Linked DNA regions of Homo sapiens: regions 1 and 2 are each linked to region 3. The links are contacts of gene promoters, found by promoter capture Hi-C in blood cells and fetal thymus (Javierre and others, 2016). All regions are on one chromosome and are shown on one strand. The core of a region is centred on a gene start or on the middle of the fragment in contact, and the rest is flanking DNA. Distances in the headings are between cores, read along the strand shown. Region 1 holds the start of LOC107984263 (a long non-coding RNA gene). Region 2 overlaps GBF1 (golgi brefeldin A resistant guanine nucleotide exchange factor 1). Region 3 holds the start of PPRC1 (PPARG related coactivator 1).

Evidence for each region. The method cuts DNA at HindIII sites, captures the fragments that hold promoters and counts their contacts. A CHiCAGO score of 5 or more calls a contact.
Region 1: a fragment that was not itself captured here is called in contact with the fragment with the promoter of PPRC1 in region 3 in 2 of 17 cell types (M1 macrophages and activated CD4 T cells); the score reaches 7.8 in M1 macrophages.
Region 2: a fragment that was not itself captured here is called in contact with the fragment with the promoter of PPRC1 in region 3 in 1 of 17 cell types (M1 macrophages); the score reaches 5.4 in M1 macrophages.

The regions. Positions count from the first base shown.
Region 1 is chr10:102,348,986-102,353,961 of GRCh38, reverse strand. It overlaps GBF1 (golgi brefeldin A resistant guanine nucleotide exchange factor 1), which reads right to left. Exons shown (of 40, transcript NM_001377137.1): 5 at 2,588-2,706; 6 at 2,011-2,119; 7 at 1,444-1,504; 8 at 308-362. LOC107984263 (a long non-coding RNA gene) reads left to right here and starts at 2,646. Exons shown (of 2, transcript XR_001747574.3): 1 at 2,646-2,760. The HindIII fragment of the contact is 162 bases long and covers 2,244-2,405 here.
Region 2 is chr10:102,367,686-102,372,246 of GRCh38, reverse strand. It overlaps GBF1 (golgi brefeldin A resistant guanine nucleotide exchange factor 1), which reads right to left. Exons shown (of 40, transcript NM_001377137.1): 22 at 3,793-4,029; 23 at 3,415-3,508; 24 at 2,860-3,036; 25 at 2,472-2,536; 26 at 2,263-2,386; 27 at 2,002-2,073; 28 at 1,769-1,863; 29 at 1,387-1,540. Among named protein-coding and RNA genes, the nearest start is that of NFKB2, 26 kb to the left of the region's middle. The HindIII fragment of the contact is 1,997 bases long and covers 1,663-3,659 here.
Region 3 is chr10:102,131,221-102,135,948 of GRCh38, reverse strand. PPRC1 (PPARG related coactivator 1) reads right to left here and starts at 2,909. Exons shown (of 14, transcript NM_015062.5): 1 at 2,728-2,909. The coding sequence starts at 2,880. RefSeq lists silencers at 2,237-2,356, 2,387-2,436, 2,647-2,826 and an enhancer at 2,807-3,086. The HindIII fragment of the contact is 8,495 bases long and covers 1-4,728 here.

The DNA.
Region 1 (4,976 bases), core at 1,075-3,574, 220 kb before region 3:
TGGCAGGACTTTCATCTTTGTCAACAGACATTTTTAGCCAAGACTGATGGGTACCATGCAGTTTCCATGAAGAACTGGCTCACCAGCTTACATGGTGGTTCAAAGATAGGCCAGAGCAGAAAAGCTGAGGAAGGGATATATCTGGAAGAGAATACATTTCTCACGAAAGGAGTGAGAGCTACTTCTAGATTCCAAGCAGACCTGTTTAGGCAAAAGCATATCTTTGCTAAGCAAGGTTACCCCAAGGCACTGAAGTTGGGAGATTAAGGTTTGGATGAGGGACAGCAGATCAGCTCTCAGATCATACCTTCTTCATGTTGGTCCCCACATAGTTCTTGGGTTCTTCTTTAAACTGAGGTAACCTATAAGATAGAAAATCCATCAACTGTCATTAGGGATAATGACAAATGTCTCCCTCCATGCCAGCCACAAACCAAAGGTGCTCTGAGCCAGAGCATGCCCTGTGTCTTAGAAAAGGCTACAAAAGAGAAGCAGACTAATTTCATCCTTTTCAGAGCTTCATCAAAGAGCCACAGGAATCGGGGGATGTGTGACATGGACAAAAGGAGGTAGTTGTGAGAGCAAGGTAAGTGCCCTTGGAGTGTGGAGGCTCTTTTTATCCTGAGACTGATTCCTTCCTGCTTATATTTACTTGGCAAATACTGCTGCCAAGAGATGGGGGGAGGGCAGTCTATCAAAACCCTAGGAGAGTGGGCAAAAGAGAAGAATTAACAGGCAGGTTGAAGTTTTGAAACCAGTAAATTTGAGCCTGAGGAGCAAAAAATTCTTTGCAGCAGGATCCAAGGGCAGTCTAGTCTGTAGATAATAAGGATTATTATCTATAGATTTGAGAGCAAAAAGAAATCCCAGAGGAAGGTTTAAAGCCATTGCCTCAGCTCTTCTGTGAGTCTGTTGAAAGGAGGTGCAGGAAACAGGCCTAGTATGAAAAGGCCTCCTAGGCCCTAGGCTAAGGGCCTTACCAAAGGGTAACCAACCATCTTGGTTTGCCTGGGACTGAGGGGGGTTTGCCAGGATGCAGAACTTTTAGTGCTGAAATCAGGACAGTCCCAGGCAATTCACAATTGCTAGTCACCCTAATTTTGGCCCTCTCCCACAGAAATCATGATCCCTTGAGTTTGGCTTCCTCTCTGGGTTCCCTTTCCCAGCTGCTACCTGCACAGAAACAGACACAAATTTGGGAAGCAGAATGAGGTCTGCTGGCCTATATTAAATAACCCTCTGCCTCCCCGTGAGGCCAAATCAGCTCCCTCCTCCTTCTCCCTTGCTCAGTAACCCTGGGCCCAGAGAACTACCCCCCATCCATAATCCCAGTGGCCTCTGATGCGGCTGTGGGGTTGGCCAGGTCCCTGACGTGGCTGTGTGGAAGCAGGCAGACTCAAGAGGCCTGGGCAGCCGGGCTGAAGCAAACAGCAGCAGGTTTACCTTGTGAAGAGCAGCTGCACCATGTCTACGAGAGTGTGCTCTGCGGATTTTCTCAATAACTCTGCACAGGCAAAAACAAATAACACAGGTGTCATTACTTGCTGTGCTATTATCAAGAGGGTTCTCAGAGCAGACTCCCCTCCAAACCTTGTTTACCAAGGATTATGCCAAACTTATTAAAACCAGCTCCAGCTCAGCCTGGCAGCCAGAACTTCACTGGCCCACTAGGTGGCACTACTGAGTCAGGGAAAAAAGGGGAGGTATAGATGTGTTCTAGGGGGTTGCAGGTTGGTGTCAATCCCAGAAACCCCAAGAGAGGGTGATTTGGTGCCTGGGCTAAGTCAATCTGGGATCCATCCCAACTCCTGCCCTGGCATAATGGGCTGAGGTCTCTATTCTAGCTTCACAATAGCCAAGTACAGACATTTCTTCTAGACCCCTATGATCGCATGAGATAGATGATGGAGAAGTCCTGAATTTTCCATCTCTCTGGGAAGACAGCCTCCTGTATTCATACTCAGACACTGGCCCCAGGAATGGTGAAGGGGCTAATATCCAAGCACCTACCACTGAGCCTCATTTCAAAGCAGATCCGGAAGCAAGACTGCATAATCTCACACACAGATTCATTGGTTAGGTGGGCACCCACTGGGGTTAGCAGCAGAGTCCGTAGAACCTATCAGGAAGAAAAAGGAATTACTGTGATAAACAAGGTACTGAGAGGTACTCAAGGGTAAGAGAGAGGGGTTAGCAAGAATGCTGACCTCACCTCAGCTTGGTAGAGAGGTCTCCAAGAAGCTTGTCCTTGGAATTGTTTCTTCACTTTTTATGACCCTGACATATTTCAGAACTGATTCTAGCCCTAGCCCATGAGCCCAAGAGATGGACGGCACAAATACAGTCGGCCAGAGGTACAAGTGTATTTAAGGCTTCTGGTATTTGACATCACTTCATATAAAGCTTTTACTGATTTTCCTTAGAAAAAGCTTTTACTTTGGGTACCCCAGCTGCTTGTCTGGAAACAAAGTAGCTCCCCTAAGCCCCAGTGGAGTCAAAACACAGTTTCATGCTGTGGGCAGAGTAAGTAGAGTCTGCGGCACCAGCCCCTGGCCATTAGCCTAATTGCTATTTCCCTCTCGCTTACCTGAAGGATTTTCATCAGGACAACTTCATCACTGGCAGGATCCGTGCCCACAAAACGAGCATGGGTGACAGCATCTGCCATGTTCTCCATGCCCTCTGCTGTGCCCTCATGGGTGGGATCTGCTCCAGCGAAAAAGGAAAGATTAAGTGATGTGGAGAGGAGAGAGATAAAAGGTAAGGCAGCCTGTCTAGCTTTGAGAGACAGTTTTTCCTCTTCAGTTCCCTAACCCGTGGCTCCTTGAGCTACCTGAGAATTTTTGCCCACAACTGATTTTTTTTTTTTTTTTTTGAGACAGAGTCTCACTTTGTGGCCCAGGCTGGAGTGCAATGACGTGATCTCAGCTTACTGCAACCTCCGCCTCTTGGGTTCAAGCGATTTTCCTGCCTTAGCCTCCCGAGTAGCTGGCATTACAGGCGCCCACCACCATGCCCAGCTAATTTTTTTTGTACTTTTAGTAGAGATGGGGTTTTGCCATGTTGGCTAGGCTGGTCTTGAACTCCTGACCTCAGGTGATCCACCTGCCTCGGCCTCCCAAAGTGCTGGGATTACAGATGTGAGCCACTGCACCCGGCCCCATAACTGGTTTTAATGAGCTCCTCAACACAAAATCCACTGGGTAAAACTGTGGTTCTCAATTGCTGGACCCATACCACAAAGTTTTGATTTTGTATGCCCAGAGTGGGGCCTGAGAATTTGTGTTTCTAACAAGACCCCAGTTGAAGTTAAACACCACCGAGCAGGGGACCATACTCTGGGAATCACTAGTATAAATCTACTAATTTCATAGACGAGGGGCCTGGAAACAAGAGTTTTTGACTCAGAACAAGAACCAGGTAGGGCCAAAGCTTGTGGCCTTTTCTCCTTTCATCTTTCAACACAGCTTCTCTCTCTGGTTGCTTTTGGAGTTTTGTGTTCAGGCGCAACTGAATTAGGGGAGCAGGAGGAGGAAATGAACACTCACTGCCGCCAATACTCATATCTGAGTGCCACATTACAGCAGATTGAAGACTTTTTTTTTTTTTTTGGAGATGGAGTTTCGCTCTTGTTGGCAGGCTGGAGTGCTATGGTGAGATCCTGGCTCACTGCAACCTCCGTCTCCTAGGTTCAAGCGATTCTCCTGCCTGAGGCTTCCCGAGTAGCTGGGATTACAGGCATGCGCCGCCACGCCTGGCTAATTTTGTATTTTTAGTAGAGACAGGGTTTCTCCATGTTGGTCAGGCTGGTCTCGAACTCCCGACCTCAGGTATCTGCCAGCCTCGGCCTCCCAAAGTGCTGGGATTACAGGTGTGAGCTACCATGCCTGGCCCAAAGACCTCTTCTTTAGTTTCATTCTTATTTAAAATAATATGACGACGAGCAAGAATCCTGTTTCCAGCTTAACAGGCATTAGGAGAGAAAAAAGATAAACTAAACAGGACTGGAGGCTGACTAGCTGGGGGGTAGGCAGGAGGGAGAATTTCAGCTGTACAGAATAAGAGGGGAGAAGCTAGAGGTCAGACAACCGGCACCACGCTGGAAATGAACACAAATGCTATTAAGCAGGGAACTCAGCTCCCATTCATGTATTAAATAGCCACGAGAAATAGCCAAATAAGTTGTCACCATCAAGGGTCTTGCCTAGCTCCTGCCCTAGGTCTGCTCTGAAGGATCCTTTCCAGAGCTGTTTAGTTCTAAAGGGGGAGCCTAAGTAGGGGGAAAGGGCAGGCATATGAAAAAGCTTTGTGAGTGACAGAGAAAGTTGCTCCAGAGGTGGCATGGTGTAATGCAGGAACACCCCCTAATTTTAGTCACAGGAATTATAAGATTGTTGTTATTTTTTCTCTCTCTTTCTTTTGAATTGAGACAGAGTCTCACTCTGTCATCCAGGCCAGATGGAGTCCAGTGGCATGATCTCGGATCACTGCAACCTCTGCCTCCTGGGTTCAAGCAATTCTCCTGCCTCAGCCTCCTGAGTAGCTGGGATTACAGGTGCCTGCCACCACACCCAGCAATTTTTGTATTTTTAGTAGAGATGGGGTTTCACCATGTTGGCCAGGCTGGTCACAAACTCCTGACCTCAGGTGATTCACCCACCTTGGCCTCCCAAAGTACTGGGATTACAGGCTTGGGCCACTGTGCCCAGCCCATTTTCTCTTTCTTGGTACCTGAAATCAGAGAGTTCCTGAGCCTAAAGCTCAGGGGATGGCTGAGAACCTAAACTTTTTTTTTTCTTTTTTTGTTTTTAAATAGACAGGGTCTTGCTCTATCGCCCAGGCTGGGGTGCAGTGGTGCAATCATGGCTCACTGCTGCCTCGACCTCTGGGGCTCAAGTGATCCTCCTACCTAAGCCTCCTTAGTAGCTAGGACTACAGATGTGTGCTAACATGCCAGGAGAATTTTTGTATTTTTT
Region 2 (4,561 bases), core at 1,412-3,911, 240 kb before region 3:
CTGTGTCCAGCCGAGAGTAAGTCTTTTTTTTTTTTTGAGATGGAGTCTCGCTGTGTTGCCCAGGCTGGAGTGCAGTGGCGCAATCTTGGCTCACTGCAACCTCCGCCTCCCAGGTTCAAGCGATTCTCCTGCCTCAGCCTCCCGAGTAGCAATCAGGCGCTCACCATCACGCCCAGCTAATTTTTCTATTTTTAGTAGAGACGGGGTTTCACCACGTTAGTCAGGCTGGTCTTGATCTCCTGACCTCGTGATCCACCCGCCTCAGCCCCCCAAAGTGGACAGTAAGTCTTAATACCAGAGTGATTCTTTTTTTTTTTTTTTGAGACAGAATCTCACTCTGTCACCCAGCTGGAGTGCAGTGGCGCGATCTCAGCTCACTGCAACCTCCGCCTTGAGTTCAAGCGATTCTCCTGCCTCAGCCTCCCAAGTAGCTAGGATTACAGGTGTGTGCCACCACACCCTGCTAATTTTTGTGTTTTTAGTAGAGATGGGGTTTCACCATGTTGGCCAGGCTGGCCTTGAACTCCTGACCTCAAGTGATCTGCCCGCTGTGGCCTCCCGCAGTGCTGAGATTACAGGCATGAACCACAGCAACCGGCCCAGAGAGAGTGATTCTTTCCACTTTATTCTTTCTAGCTATTCTAGAGCTTGTGCCTTTCCATCTAAATTTTAGAATAAGCTTACCTATGTCTACAAGAACCTTTCTGGGATTTTTATAGGAGTTATGTTGAATTTACAGATCAATTTGGGGAGAAGTGACAAAGTTACTATGTTGAGCCTTCCAATCCATGAACATAGTATGCCTCTTCATTTATTTACATCTTCTTCAATTTATTTTGTAGTTTTGTAGTTTTCATCATACAAATCTTATACATGTTTTGTCAGCTATATATTAAGTATTTCACTTTATTTGGAACCCTTGTAAATGGTATTGTATTTTAAATTTCAGTTTCCATATTGTTCATTGTTAGCATGTAGAGATATAATTACTTTTTGTGTATTGATCTCACATCCTGTGACCTTGTTGAATCCACTTATTAGTTCTATGCTTGTTGTTTTTTGTAGTTAAGCAAAGAGATCTCAAGAGGGTCATAAGCATGACAGGAAACCAGGTATAGGGCTGAGACTATTATAAGGCAGTAGCAGGCCAGTCCTACAAAGCAGATTCATAGGAGGCTGAGGTGCCAAACACAAGCTCCATGCCTGAGGCCATTCCAGGCTCACTCCCAGTACCACCCGCTAGACTGCACCAGCCCTGTGGTTGGTCACTGGACTCATGCTATGGGGCACTAAATGTACTCTCTGTCTCAGGCCATATTCATAATTGACAACTGTGGCCTTAATCCCTTGCATACCTGCCCACTCTCCAAGATGCATTCTGCTTACCTGAGCACTGATCTCTTCTCTCCGGAGAAGCCGAATGGCCAGGCGTAGCAACCCCACCACTGCCCGCTCCACAAGGAAGCAGAAATCTTGTGCCTGAACACAGAGGTGGTATAGATGGTCTCGAACAGTCTGCCACACACAGCCCACACGATCCCTGTGTAGACATAAAGGAATGAAGATAGTCTCAGCCAGAGGGGCCACTGGGCAACAGGTCCCCTAGGCCTTTCAGGACTCATTGGTATTATACCCTAAGTAGACAGGTATGATGAGTAAGCTTCTCCCCTGCTGCCTACAGTTCCCCAGAGCCCACTCAGCAAGATGGCTTCCATCCCTTTGGCACAAGCCCAGCATGGGGTCTGCCTAAAGACTACGCTCATCTTACCTGTTCTCCAACACAATCCTTAGCAGCATCTCTAGGCAGAAAGCAGCATCTTCCTCATCATATGTCTCTTCATCTGGTGTCACTGAGACCAGAGCCTGAAGGGGAACAGCAGCAGGAAAGTAGGCATGGAAAAGAAGCCAACCACTGGCCCTGCCCTGACAGAAATAATACTGTCCCTGTCACCCCTCCCAGATTCAGCCAGTTGTTCCATGTTTCCTTTCTTCATCCTTTACCTTCATGAGCTCCTGTAGTGACTCCAGCTGGAGGAACTTGCTTTCTGTGATCATTTTTTCTGGGTCACATTGCTAGAGAGGGCAAAAGAGAGAGGGGGTCTTTGACAAAGGCTGAAGAGAACAGAATGTCCCCAAGAGCCAGGGGGAGAGGGCAGAGTCAGCCCTGGTTACAAATCCTGGATGATTTATTCTTCAGTTCACCAAGTAGCATCTAATAGGAAGGTGTTTAGGCTTTCTCACCAGGGGTGGATGGGCAGTTACCTTTATACACTCTAAGGCCACTCTCTTGGCCTCTTGGTTTTCAGTGGATGGGCCCCGAACACTAGACTGCTCAGGACCACTCAGTGTTAGCCAGCTCACAAAGCTCAGCACTGTTGACTCTCCTCTGTAGAAAAAGGGCACATGGCCTGGTGAGCCCCAAAGTTCTGACTCTCCCTCCCCAAGCCCCTGAGCCTCTGGTCTGCTCTTACCGGTTTGATGGTGTCTCTTCCCGCTGTAGAGAGATCTTGCCATTGGGATCCACGAAATCTTCTACCTGGAAAAGTAAGTCAAAATAATTTCTTTCCATGTGTCCTTTGCATTTGTGCCCGCCTCCACCCACCAAAGTTCTCTGGATTTCCTCCTCTAGTCTTCTGCCCCTATGCTATTGTGCCAATTGGTGACTGGCAATGGCATCTACCAGCCTTCTTTTACAGCTATCCCCCAAGATCTGTGGTCTTACATTTGAGGCATTCCTGGTGAGCTGTGGCAGGCATCAGGCCCAACATTACTCTCAACCACTTACTTCTATGTACAGGTAGCATACAATGTTGCAGCTCTTGCCTTGTTATCGCTCACTAGTCTCCTACTAAGAATTACCTCTATCATAGCCTTGGGCAGTAGTTGGGCTCGGAAGAGCTGCAGCATGGCCTCCATGATATTCTTCCAGCCCTCCCGCAGGATGTCACCATGACGATGGGCCAAATGGAATACTGTCTTGGCTGCAATATGGGCTTTAGGGTTGCTTCCAAATACACTGGGCAGGTTCTCAATAGACTGGAAAAGAGGAAGAGAACAGACTTAAGGCCGAGCTAATGTCTGGAAAGGAAAATCTCTTAGGTCTCTGCCTATGATGGTTCCCTCAGGTCCTTTTGTTGGCTCTGCTTCAATCCCCCATAATACTGGTGGGAGTGGGTTAACCTAGTTAAGGCCTTCCCCACTCCTGTATCTCCTTTCCCATCCCCATTACATGAAGTAACACTAGTTTTATCCCAGAGTGTGCAAGACAGAAATGGCCTAAGCTCTGGTATATTCAAGTGGGGGCAGTGAGGGAAGACGCTGAGGGCAACCAGGTCTGTTGATAAGGGTAGATCCATGGCTAAAAGAGAGGTCCTCCTTTGGAGCTCCAAGTACACAGTTCCTGCACCTGCTCACCTCACTGCTGAGAGCTGTGAATTTGCATAGAGAGATGATGAGATTGTCAAACACATCGCTGAGGCCATAGTGGGCGGAGATCATGGCGCACTTCCTGTAATGTTACCCCCCATCCCAGAAACAGAGTCACTGGAAGGCCAAGCAGCCCTTCCAAGTCCCTGAGCTTGCATGGGGCTCTTCCCCAGTCAGTCCCAGGAAGAAACCTTTTAATTTTGTTTCTGTTTAAGACTGAGCCTACCCAAGCTTCAGCCTCCCTCCAAAAACTCAGGGGGAACCCCATTCTAATGAAGTAACAGTAGGAGTCAGAGAGGCATGGAGAAAACCATGTTAGCTCACAGAGCTAGTGGGAGGTGAAGACCAAGGCCAAAGCTGGGCTACCTGAAGCCTGAGATGGCTTTCTGGATGATTGTCTCCTCAAGGCTTTTGTCAAAGACATAAGAGAGAGCAGCAATAGTGGGGCCCCAGGTCATGGTGAAGAGGTCAAGATCATAGCTGGCAGTAGGCACACGCAGGAATATGCCCTCAGGGGTGGCACCTCGATGAAGCAGCACATTCCACACATAGTTCTCCCGAACCAAGCCTGTCTGCTCCTCAGGCATTACAATTTCCTCATTCCTGTCAGGAGGTAAGGGAAGGAGCAGTTGCACTGCTTTGAACCTGACTAGTTCCAAACCAAGACTAGGAGTTCATCCATACTAGCACTCTCCACTGATGAGAGGTCATCAGAACTGCAGCTCAGTGGTCTGCTTTCCACCCACCAGTGGGAGCAGACAGAAAGAAAGGAAGTGTCCCATAATCTCAAAGCCCTATCTGTAAGTGAGGCCTTTAGTTCTATAGTAAGATCACACATTCTTACTAGGTGTGATAAAATGAACAATTCTACCTTTTCTGATTTACAGTAAAAAACTAAGTGGCCCATTTCTGACCTGTAACCTGGGCCTCACACTCCAGTGCCCATCTTGGGTTCTCTACCAGCCAGCATCTTGTAATCTATACAGGAAAATGTACCTGTTTTAAGTTCAGAAAATGGGGCCATGATATCCTACTTAAGAGCAGCACTTTGGACCCTGGCTTAGAGTACTAGAGTCCCAATATCATTTGGGCTTCTTTAAGGAAGAAACAGTTGGCAGAGAGGGGGCTGCCCAAC
Region 3 (4,728 bases), core at 1,660-4,159:
ATCACTCAATTCCCAAACAGCACAGCTCCCAGAGTACCAAGATCATCCGAGTGCTAAGCCCAGGCTGAAAGTAAGCCAGCCATCAGCACCTCTAACTTCAAAAACCTCCCAAGTAGCTTTCACCCACCAAACCTGCTCCCTCCAGGGTTCAAAAACAGTCAGAAACTTTTTAAATATGTATCTGATCACTGCCTGAGACCCTCCCTAAATCCCTTCAATGGCATTTTACTGCTCTTAGCATTAGGTTTAAACTCTTTAATATAGCTTACAGGCCGGGTGTGGTGGCTCACGCCTGTAATCCCAGCACTTTGGGAGGCTGAGGTGGGTGGATCACTTGAGGTCAGGAGTTCAAGACCAGCCTGACCAATATGGTGAAACCCTGTCTCTACTAAAAATACAAAAATTAGCCATGTGTGGTGGTGCTTGCCTGTAATCCCTGCTACTCAGGAGTCTGAGGCAGGGGAATTGCATGAACCCAGGAGATGGAGGTTGCAGTGAGCCAAGATCACACCACTGCACTCCAACCTGGGTGACAAAGCAAGACTCCATTTCAAAAACAACAACAAAACAACAAAATATATATATATATAGCTTACAAAAGTCCTGTCTTCCCCACCAGACCTCTGCTCCAGCGTGTCCTCTCCCACTACTCTGTAGTACAGGTCTCGGTTTCTCCAATAAGCCATGCTCTCTTCCTCCTTGAGGGCTTCACTTTTCCCTGATTAAAGGTTTTCCACAGTTTTAACATCTCAGCTTTAAATGTCCCGTCTCAGACTCTGCAAAGTAGATCACTACTGCCAATTACATAATCCCAAATATCCTGCACTTTTGTCTCATTCATTATTATTTATCATCGGTCTATCCTGATTAAAACATAGATCCTGAGGGATAAAGACCATGTTTATGTGGTTTACCAGTTTGTCCCCTGTGCCTAAACATAATGGTATTTCAATAAATAACTGGCTGACTGACCAGCTCACATATACCCATCTTTGGTTTTCGGGGGAAGGGAATGACAATCTCTCCATGAGATCCTCTCCAATCCCAAATTACTACTTAACTATTATAGCTGGATCTTGGATCCTTCCTGACTCTCCCTGTGCTATTTGGGAATTCAGTGATGGGTGAGGTCAGGTGTGAGGGTGTGTCTCTGACTGGACACCTGATGGAGGTGAAGATGAATGGTTCATAGAGAGCTGGGCATTGCCTTGAGATTCTGGCCTAGACCCTGGGGCTCTGGTAGGTAGGCAGCACCAGCCCCAAAAGATGTGACCTCTGAGAAAGTAGGGGAGAAGGGATCAGCGCTCCCAAATTCTTGCCCCAGAAACCATTCTCCCCTGGGCAAGGGCCTGGATTGGTCTGCCGGACCTGATATTACCAGGCAGCCTGCAGCCCAACTCCCACCTAGTAACACACAAAAAATGCTGTCAAGGACTCAGCTTAATTGTTTAAGAGAGGTAACAGTTCAAACTAATTCCTGCCCCTTCTACCCTGGGTGGAAACTTTTAAGAAGCCCTCCACTGTAGAGTAGAACAATAACACTTTTTGAAGGCCAAGAAAAAAATATCTAACAGAATCCTCCTCATCCAGTGTATGTTCAACTGTTGAACATGTTGAACAGTTCTCAAACCGCCTCCAACTTTTCCCATCCCCAGCAAAAAATCCGAAGAGCCTTAAGTACGGACCACCCCAGTTTCTGCGTGTCAGATTACAGGAGCATGCCTTCCCAAAAGAGATGCTGGAGGAAAAAGTGAGGAGAGGATTCCCTTTCCCTTTCTTAACCTTGTCCCAGGTGTATGTTGACACTCCCCATACCCCTTGAATCACTAATAAGGCAAGACTGCAAGGCAACCAAAACGCCAATGCCCGTGACTCACAACCCACCCCAAGCCGGTCAGACGGAAGCGCCACAAACTCACTCCTCCACAACCCTTCAGCCTCAGCCCTCTACCCTCCCCATCACACTCAGCCATCCGCAGGGAACAAACTCCCGCAACATCTGGAGAGTCCTTCACCATCCGCAGTGGAGAGACGTTGCGGACCCAAGCAGCAGGGAAAAAAAAAACCTCCAAGGCTCTGAACAAAGTTGACTCTAGCAGCCCTTACCTTCCTTCCCGGCCCGGGCCTCCAGCCCCGGCAGGAGATGGCGGGACCCGTGGAGACACACCCAGTTCGCGTCAGCCAGGCTCCAAGGCCGATACTAGATGCCCGACAGCCTGGGACGGGAGCCACGTGGACGTTCCTTCCCCGCCCCCACGTGGACCCGCTGCCTGCGCCCCCCTCCACCAGGAGCCCGACCCACGTGGATGCCCGGGCCGCCTAGAGGGGGAGGGGAGGCAGACAAGTTCTCCCGGGAAAATTGCTCCCCCAACCCCACGTGGCTCCGAAAAGGGAACTGCGGCGCCGGGCTCGGGGAGCCTCACTGGGCATCCTTACATGGAGGTCTCAGCCTTCGACCCCAAGTCCGAACCCCTGACCCCCAGCCGCGGGTTATGTTTCCGACACCCCGCTCTCCCCCTCCGGCGTCCCCCAGGAATGGCCGTAGAGACGCTGCCTCTGCCCGCCTACCCCCAGCAAACGGCCTAGGGCCCACTTGCTCCGGCCCGGCTCCCGCGGCCACCCGGCATCGACTCTCAGGCGCTTCCTCTCTTTCCTGTGGCGTCCACGTGTCACCGCCCGGCACACACCGCTTTGCTGCCTGTCGCGGGCCGCCAGCCAACCTCTCACCTGCTCGCCGCCGCTCACAGCGCCCAAAGTCCCATACGGCGCTTGGCTTCGACTTCCCCAACCACTGCCGCGGGCTCCCCCGCCAGGGTCCGGACCGGGGCCCCCACTCGGGGGCGGCGCGACTCCGTCTCTCCGTCCCCGGCGCGCCGCCATCTTGGCCCCTGAACACCCAGCGCTGCTCTGATCGCTGGCGCCGCCTCGCCCAGCCGATTGTGGGAAAGGAACTACAACTCCCGAATGACACTGCAAGACTACGAATCCCAGAGAGCCGTGCGGCGAGACCCACTTGCACCCTGGAAGAAGGCCCTGGCCTCGCGCGAAGGTTCCTGGGAGTAGTAGTCCCTTTAAGTGGGGACCGTTTGGCACTAGCTGCAGGCATCCTGTAGGGCTTAGTTTTGCGTTACACTGGGATACCGATTTAGGGAGCGCTCAGCAGTTAGGGGGAAAGTTAACATTTGCGTATTTTATTGTCGTTAACTTGTCCAACTGTTGGAACGTCCTCTTTGACGTTCTACCTGCTGTACGTTCCTTTCACCTTAGTCCAAGTGGGGCCAAGTGGGCCTGTATATGTTTTGAAACACCACCCCCTAGTGGGCACTTGCGCTCCAAGCGCTAATCCTCACCTAATCCCATATTGCGGCAGTACTGCAAACTTAATCGGAAAATGTCGCGTTCTCCGCCCTCTCTGCTACTACTCAGAAACTTACGTTGCCTTCTCTATCAAATTTGTTTCTTGCTGTTTCAGGTCTCCTTGCTGTTCCCTAAAGACAACAGGTGTTCTCCTGCCTATATGTCGACCTGGAATACTTGAACCTCAAAACATTTCATGCCTTATTTAATCTAGGAAAGGCTTTGGTTGTCCTAGCCAAGAGGGATCCCGCTCTGCGTTTCTACGGTCCATCACTGTCTCTACTCTTCATTCATTTGCCACTTAAAAGCTACTTCATATTTGCTATTTTTAAATAACTTTTTACAAAGCACAAAAATTATTTCAAAAAGTACAAGACTGTTTAGAGGAAAAAAAGTAGTAGGCCTGCAAATTATAGTTCTACTGCCCAGATTTAAACCCCTTGTTACTTTTAGTGTGTATTCATTGACGCTTTTTTCTATGAATGGAAAAATATATAGGGGCACAAATTGGTGATTTGCTTTTTTTATGTAACAATATGTTAATCCACTCACTAGCTAAATATTTACTGAGCCTTTAGCACCAGTTCTATTTTATGAATGTATTGTTATTTAAATTATATTGAAGTTGTTTCTGGCCGTGGCTCGGTGACTCACACTTGTAGTCCCAGCACTTTGGGAGGCTGAAGTGGGTGAATCACTTGAACTAAGGAGTTTGAGACCAGCCTGGACAACATGGCAAAACCCCACCTCTACCAAAAATTTAAAAATTAGCTGGACATGGTGGCACACATCTGTGGTCCCAGCTACTCGGGAGGCCGAGGCAGGAGGATTGCTTGAACCCAGGAGGTGGAGGTTGTAGTGAGCCAAGATCATGCCACAGCACTCCAACTTGGGTGACAGAGTGAGACTTCTTCTCAAAAATAAATAATATTTAAGTTGTTTACAGTTTCTCACTATTACATATTATTATGATGAACACCCTTGCATATGTCATGTACATGTACCTTTGCACTTTTGTGCAATCTTTCTGTGGAATAGTTTCCATGAAATTCAAGTGCCGAGTTAAACAATGCATGTATTTGAAATACAGTAGAAAATTGCCCTTTAGAAATATTGCATCACTATACATCCCCACACATGTTCATGAAAAGAGAGGACCTTTTCTGGACCTTTTCTTAGATGTTCTTTCTTTTTTTTTTTTTTGTTAGACAATAGGGTTTTACTCTGTCACCCAGGGCTGCAGTGTGGAGTGCGGTGAGCAAGAGTGCCGTGGCAGATCATAGCATAGCTCACTGTGATCTCTCAAGCTCAAAGGATCCATCTGCCTCAGCCTCCAGAGTAGCTGGGTACTACAGGTACACACTGCCATGC